Regions from separate parts of the Homo sapiens genome. Here region 2 is linked to region 1. The links are contacts of gene promoters, found by promoter capture Hi-C in human tissues and cell types (Jung and others, 2019). All regions are on one chromosome and are shown on one strand. Each heading gives the region's core, a stretch centred on a gene start or on the middle of the fragment in contact. The rest is flanking DNA. Distances are from core to core; before and after follow the strand shown. Region 1 overlaps CREBBP (CREB binding lysine acetyltransferase). Region 2 holds the start of C16orf90 (chromosome 16 open reading frame 90).

Region 1 (3,421 bases), core at 658-3,157:
CTCTGTGCTGGCTCAGCAGAAGAGCTGTCACAGGAGCCCAAGGCTCCTCAACCATCCCAGGGCCTGCCTCCCACTGGGGCATGCGGCCCTGGACTTCTGCACACGGGGACACTCAGGAAACAGGGGAGGGAGTAAATGAAGCCTTATTCAGATCACCCTTTCTGGTTCCAGAGTTTTTGCACTTGACTGCATTTCTGTACCCTTTCCTTAAGTTTTGCCTCGAGGTTTCATCTTCTCAAGATGGTTCTAAGTACTCACAGGCATCTATCAGAATCCTGTGTACACTGCTAATGCTTAACAGGTACCTCAAGATAAATTATACACAGTAAACAAACAGAATCACATACTTGTCTGCTGCTTAAACAGTCCATGAAATATGCTTCAAAATTATCAATAATTTTCAGTGTACATCCTGATTTGATTTAAAAGAAAAAATAATTCAGAACACACACCATTTAAGTTTTCGTAATTTTAAGCTTTCATGGCCATCACGTTCCTATTTTTAAAAATACAATAAAAAATGGAGACAGAGTCAATGGTATAGATGACAGAATTCCCGGCTATGTATCTGCTGAGGTGCTACACTATCACACGCGTGCCTGCACACTGGTTTCTGTGGATACGAGCACACATGGCTTCTGTCCTTTCCAGAACTGCTGAGAAACAGGTCTTGCTCCAATCAGACTAGCACTCCCAGTAAGTCCTAGGACTTACAAGGTACGACAACGTCCCTGGTTAACGCTAGTGTCAGTTCCCATTGGGCGGATATGCCAGACACACATCATCTCAGGCTACCCTCATAACCACCCTGAGATGGGAATTGTTATTATCTCCATGTTACAGATGAGGAAACTCTGAGCTCAGAGAGCTGATGTAACTTGCCCCAAACATGCTCTGGCCTCAGCACTCCTAAGGCCAGCTGGTTTGGTGGCCGGGTGGGAGCCCATGGGTACGGAACTCGGAAGCAAATAACAGACCCAATTAGAAGATAGGTGGCAATCTGCTTGAAAGTAAAACCTTAACAAGAAAATGATAAGAACTTTAAGGGACAAATACTATATAATTCTTTCACTAATTCCCTCAAATATTTCCTGAGGGCCTACTATGTGTCAGGCACTGCCCCTGGGGAGGGAAGTGCTGGGAAGAGGGCCGTGGAAAGGCTCTGGAGTTCTTACTGACGCTCACCTTCTGGTGTCACAGGAAGGGGAGCAAGCCTAGAGCCTGAGATGACAAAGACGGACGAGAAATGCCATGTGGGCCACTGGGGTCAACAAAAAGCAAAAGAACAAAGAAAAATGCAACCGGTCACCAGGCTTTCTGATAAATTCGTCTGATTTTAAATCAAGTCATCCATATAACTGTTACAGAGGAACAAAAAAGACAGAGAGAGAGGGCCCTGCTAAGCTCTGAAGTGCTCCAAGACAGGAGACCCAAGCTAGCCTGCTGCTCACCTGGGCTCTCCCGGGCTCCACATCATGCAGCTCAGAAAACTTGCCCTGCTGCTGTTTTCCTTAAAGCTGTCTGTGCAGCCGTGGTAGGCCAGTGCTCCCCAACGGGTGCTCAGAGAATGAAGTCCCACGTTATATCAGTCACCAAATTGCAGCCCATGGGCGAAGTCCTCAGATGCCAGTCTTTACAACTAGAGTTTTACTGGAACACAGCCAGGCCCACTCGCCTATGGCTACTTTCTTGCTGAAATGGCAGCCTTGAGTAGTTGCAACAAGAGACCATATGGCTCAGAAAGCCAAATGCGTGCTCTCTGGCCCTTTGCAGAGGAAGTCTGCGGACCCATAATAGGCTAAAAAGAGTTCTAGCGTCAAACAGGATTGAGAGTGGTCCAACTGTAGCCCCTCTCTCACAGTGCCCAATCAGGACACCAAGGCTCTGGGAAAGTCTGCAGTCAAATTCCTCAGCTACAAGCAACAGCATCTGAGCACAAACCATTTGTTGAGAAATACCTCTTAGCATGCCCTCTAGTTTCTTGGAATACATGTGAAGAGCTGGTTTGAGTAAGGTAAAGAGGGGTGCCCTCACTAATGGGACCCCAAAAACTAAACTGACAAGCTTTTGCAATCTTCAGAAACTCACAATAAGGTACATTTCATCTTAACTAAGGTAAGACACACTTTGGCAAAATCATTTTCCTAACTGTTTTCAAATACATCAAGTAAAAACACAAGTCAGCAATTATGGACCCCCCAGGTAATCACATACTTTGCCACACAATTACAACACACTACTTAGAAGCTGTGAAAACACAGGCGACTAATCTAAGCATCAACTTCCAACTGCAGGACTCAGTCTCTTTGTAAGTTATGTTCAATTCTGTTTACAGAATCAAATCTGAATGTTCAGCCAGGAGCGACTTTCCATCTTCTGAAGGCCCTCTAAGGCGCCCTGCACATGACTTGTCCTTGCCTACCTTCATCCCTGACGACCTTTGAATGGGGCCACCGCTCTCACCCCTCTCAGTTATTCAAAAACGAAGCACGGTCATGAAATGTCCTAGTCCTAAAAGTCTCTATGACAACTTTTATTCCTACTTAGCCAGAACTCACTGATGGGGTAACATAACCGTTTCTCATTCTCCCTGAGGTAAACAGGAACACGAGCCCACACACGTCACGCTGAGGATAACACCAGAACCAGAGGGAAAAGGGGGACGCCCTAACCCAGGAGGAAGAATACACTCCTGGCTGCCCCCACCACAGGTGGTTACAAACCTCCCCCTTAGTGATCTCATTCATGTGCGGGAAGGCCGCTACTGAAACTCACTAAGCTTGGCAGGTTCCTGGGTCGATTCAAGTAAATGCATTGTTTACAGATAGAGACTTAGAAAATAAATATATAGAGCTACGGACTTTAACAATCTAGTTTGGATCTGGTTTTGACCCTGTATCACCTCTCAAGTCCAGTTCCTCACCTAGAAAATAGCAGTAACAGCATCTTCCCTTCCTCACAGGACGCTGTAAGGATCAAACTGAGGTGACGTGGAGAAAAGCACTCTGATACATAAAGTACCAGACATACATAACAGACCATTTGGTTGACAACCATATTCGCCACCAGCTTTCTTTAAATAAGCTTCCCTATTGCATTTAAAAGGATTCACGTCATAAAATGTAATCACAACTGCTTAGAGCCACTTATACAGCACAGGATGAAACACAGCTATGTTCAATCTTCAGAATGTAGTTTTTCTTTTCCTTTTTCCCCCAGAGACAGGGTCTCACTCTGTCACCCAGGCCAGAGTGCAGTGGCATGATCACAGCTCACTGCAGCCTCGACCTCCTGGGCTCAAGCGATCCTCCTGCCACAGCCTCCTGAATAGCTGGGATTACAGGATTGTACTATTACACCCAACTAATTAAAAAAATTTTTTGTTTAGATGGGGTCTCACTATGTTGTCCAGGCTGGTCTC
Region 2 (3,421 bases), core at 572-3,071, 380 kb before region 1:
CTCCTCCTCCCTCTCCCCATCACATTCTCCCGAGGCCCAGGCCTGGGCGCTGGGCCGCTGCCTGGGCCACCCCATGTGGCAGGGCCACTGCCGGGGGCCGAGCCCCTCCTGCTCAGGCTGCCTCCTCGGCCATCCTGCCCCTCCTGTACCCAGTCCTGGCACTCGGGATCCCTATGGCCTCTCCAGGGCCCCAGAGCGGGTTCTCTTGCACAAGGGACACATGGCCTCTTCCCAGGTCCCCCAGGACCTCTTGGGCCTGAGCCTAGAAGGACTAGGCTGGGGGAGGGCACCCTTGTCTGGGTCCATGCTGGAACTGGAAGCTGAGGAAAGAGGAGAGAAAGGAGTCACTTGAGGGACCCAAGGGGAGGCTGGGGGGGAGGCTGGCAGCCCACCCTGGGGTTTCCAGAATCCGATATTCTTGAAAACAGAAGGGAGGAGGGCAATGCTTCCTCCTTAACAGAATCCCCAGGGGAGGGAGGAGGTTGAGGGAACAGAATGGTTCAAGCTGGAAGGACCCTCATCTAACCTGAACCCTCATTTTACAAGTGAGAAAACTGAGGCCCAGCAAGGGAGACAGATTCCAAGGCCCCTCACCGAGTGTGGAGCTGGGGCAGTCACCCAGCCCTCCCTCCCAGATCCTCCCTTTTTCTCGCACCGCTTTGTCCCTGGTGGATTCTCCAGACCCCGCTTAGCTGTGCGTGATGCAGAGATGGGGACAGATTCATCAAGATCTTGGCCTTCTGGGGCATGGTGCCACTGTGGAGGCTTGGGAGTGGAGAAGGGCCCGCCTGAGGCCCCAGCCCAACCATCCCCTAGGGTCTTCCCCCGTGCCCAGTCCTGCCTTGACAGAGCTCACCACTGCTTCCCAGGCTGTCCCTGGGCAATCGGGCTTCCAGAAGGGCTGAACAGAGGCTGTTACGTGGGCCCAGAGTCCCCTGTGGCAGGTCCAGGGCCCAGGCTGTGCCCTCAGGCTGTGGCAGGCAGCCCCCAGCCATAAGCCGGCCCAGCCAGTGGCTCTCACACTGGCCAGTGGGTGGCGGGTGGCTCTCCAGGTAGAGGCCCAGGCCCCGGAGGTGGCGCAGCCGGAAGTTCTTGGGCTTGCTTCCCTGGGCACTGGGGCACTGCGGCTGCGGGGACCCCAGGCCCCCCTCGTAGATGTTGGGGGGTGCGTCAGGGTGGCCGGGGCGTCCTTGGGCCTGGCTCACTGCATCTGCAGAGGAGACAGCGGGAGGGTGGTGGCCAGCCCCCCACAGCAGCCATGAGGGGAGGGTGCAGTCACATACCTCTGAGACCAGCTCACATGATGGGCTACACCCCCAGCCAACCTGGCCTCAGTTTACCTGTGTGTCAAATAGTCTCAGTCCACTGCCTCCCCTGCCCATGCCCAAGACACGACTCCTCTTCCCACTCCCAACCAACAGGGAGGCCTGGGAAGCCTCGGGCCTTGGTACTAAGAGTGCTTTCAGGACCTCAAGTCCTTTCTACTACCCTGTTCTGCCCGCTACCCTAGGAAGAGTATTCTGGTCCCCACAGAGAAATTGCACAGTGGGTTTGAGAGAAAGTGGCCAGCCCAGGGGCTCATGGCCTGGCCCAGTGGCCATTCCCCTCTCCCAAGCATACATGTCCCTGAGGCCACCCCTCGGCTTTGGGCCCAGGTGGGGACAGAAGCCTATCTCTCTTCCTGCCACTCCTCCCCACAGCCCGGCACCTTCTCTTATGTGCAGCTCAGAAAATGCACAGACCAAGGCTTCCATGGAGGGCCAGTGTGGTGGGGAGGAGCAACCAGGACTTGGGTGCAGCAGGGCCCTGCTCTCCCCTGCCTAGGGGGTACATTGGCAGGTCTCCCCTGGCAACTGGTTCTTATGACATCACGGGGAAGACTCCCAGCCTTCCTGGACCCCTAGTTTGGGAGAGGACAGTGCCCAAGGCAAGGGCAGGGTGAAAGAAAGGCATGGGAAGGGGCCAGAACCCTGGGGGAAGTCCCTGGTCCCTCTGGCTGGGGTCAGGCCACATAAAACAGACAGCTCTGGCAAACTGGAGAGTCCTTCTCTCAGGTGATCTCTTGGGGCCAGCTTCCTCATCTGGGGTGGGAAATGAGGGTTCAGGAGTACAGACCTAGGAAGACCTAGGTCGGTACTTTGAAAATGCTGAAAAGGGGCTGGGGGCGGTGGCTCATGCCTGTAATCCCAGCACTGTGGGAGGCCGAGGCAGGCTGATCAGTTGAGGTCTGTGGGAGGCCGGGGTGGGCGGATCATGAGGTCAGGAGATCGAGACCATCCTGGCTAACACGGTGAAACCCCGTCTCTACTAAAAATACAAAAAAATTAGCCGGGCGTCGTGGCGGGAGCCTGTAGTCCCAGTTACTCAGGAGGCTGAGGCAGGAGAATGGCGTGAACCCGGGAGGCGAAGCTTGCAGTGAGCCCAGATCGCGCCACTGCACTCCAGCCTGGGCTGCAGAGCGAGACTCCGTCTCAAAAAAAAAAAAAAGTTAAACATTCATCTTTCCGGACCTGGCCAAGCAGGAAGCGCCATCATGGGAGCTGACGTCCGCCACAAGAAGGACCTAAAGGTTCGGCGCAAAGAGCCCAAGAGCCAGGATATCTAACTGAGGCTGTTTGTTGGTCAAGCTGTACAGGTTACCGTCCAGACGAACTAACTCCACATTCAACCAGGTTGTGCTGAAGAGGTTGTTTATGAGTCGCACCAACCGGCCACCTCTGTCCGTTTCCCGGATGATCCGGAAGATGAAGCTTCCTGGCTGGGAAAACAAAACGGCCGTGGTTGTGGGGACGCTTAACGGATGACGCGAGGGTTCAGGAGGTGCCCAAACTTAAGGTGTGTGCGCTGCCCGTGACCAGCCGGCCCACAGCGGCATCCTCAGGGTGGGGGCCAAGATCCTGACTTTCGATCAGCTGGCCCTGGACTCCCTCAAGGACGGCGGCCCCGTCCTACTCTCCGGTCTTCGCAAGGGCCGACAGGTGTACCGGCATTTCGGCAAGGCCCTGGGAACCCCACACAGCCACACCAAACGCTATTTCCGCTCCAGGGACCAGAAGTTCGAGCGCGCCAGAGGCCTACGGGCCAGCCGAGGCTACAAAAACGAACCCTCTTATTAAAAAGATTTTGGATGCTGACAAAAAAACAAAAAGTTAAAACATTCAATTTTCTCTTGTCACAGACGACCTGATTTTTCTTTTTTTCTTTTCTTTTTTTTTTTTTTTAAGATGGAGTCTCACTTTGGCGCCCAGGCTGGAGTGCAGTGGCGCGATCTCGGTTCACTGCAACCTCCGCCTCCCGAGTTCAAGAGCTTCTCCTGCCTCGGCCTCCCCAGCAGGTGGGATTACAGGCACCCACCACCACGCCCAACGGATCTTTGTATTTTTAGTAGAGACAGGCTTTCGCCATGTTGGCCAGGCTGGTC

Evidence for each region. The method cuts DNA at HindIII sites, captures the fragments that hold promoters and counts their contacts. A contact is called where the count stands out against the background at its distance.
Region 2: a contact is called between the fragment with the promoter of C16orf90 here and a fragment that was not itself captured in region 1, in 1 of the 25 tissues and cell types used here (dorsolateral prefrontal cortex).

The regions. Positions count from the first base shown.
Region 1 is chr16:3,872,839-3,876,259 of GRCh38, forward strand. The region is part of intron 1 of CREBBP (CREB binding lysine acetyltransferase); the gene reads right to left. Among named protein-coding and RNA genes, the nearest start is that of CREBBP, 6.2 kb to the right of the region's middle. The HindIII fragment of the contact is 5,503 bases long and covers 1-3,421 here.
Region 2 is chr16:3,493,668-3,497,088 of GRCh38, forward strand. It overlaps C16orf90 (chromosome 16 open reading frame 90), which reads right to left and starts at 1,822. Exons shown (of 3, transcript NM_001080524.2): 1 at 1,709-1,822; 2 at 857-1,210; 3 at 1-320. The coding sequence starts at 1,754. The coding sequence ends at 172. It also overlaps a transcript of CLUAP1 not described here and the pseudogene RPL18P12. The HindIII fragment of the contact is 9,668 bases long and covers 1-2,579 here.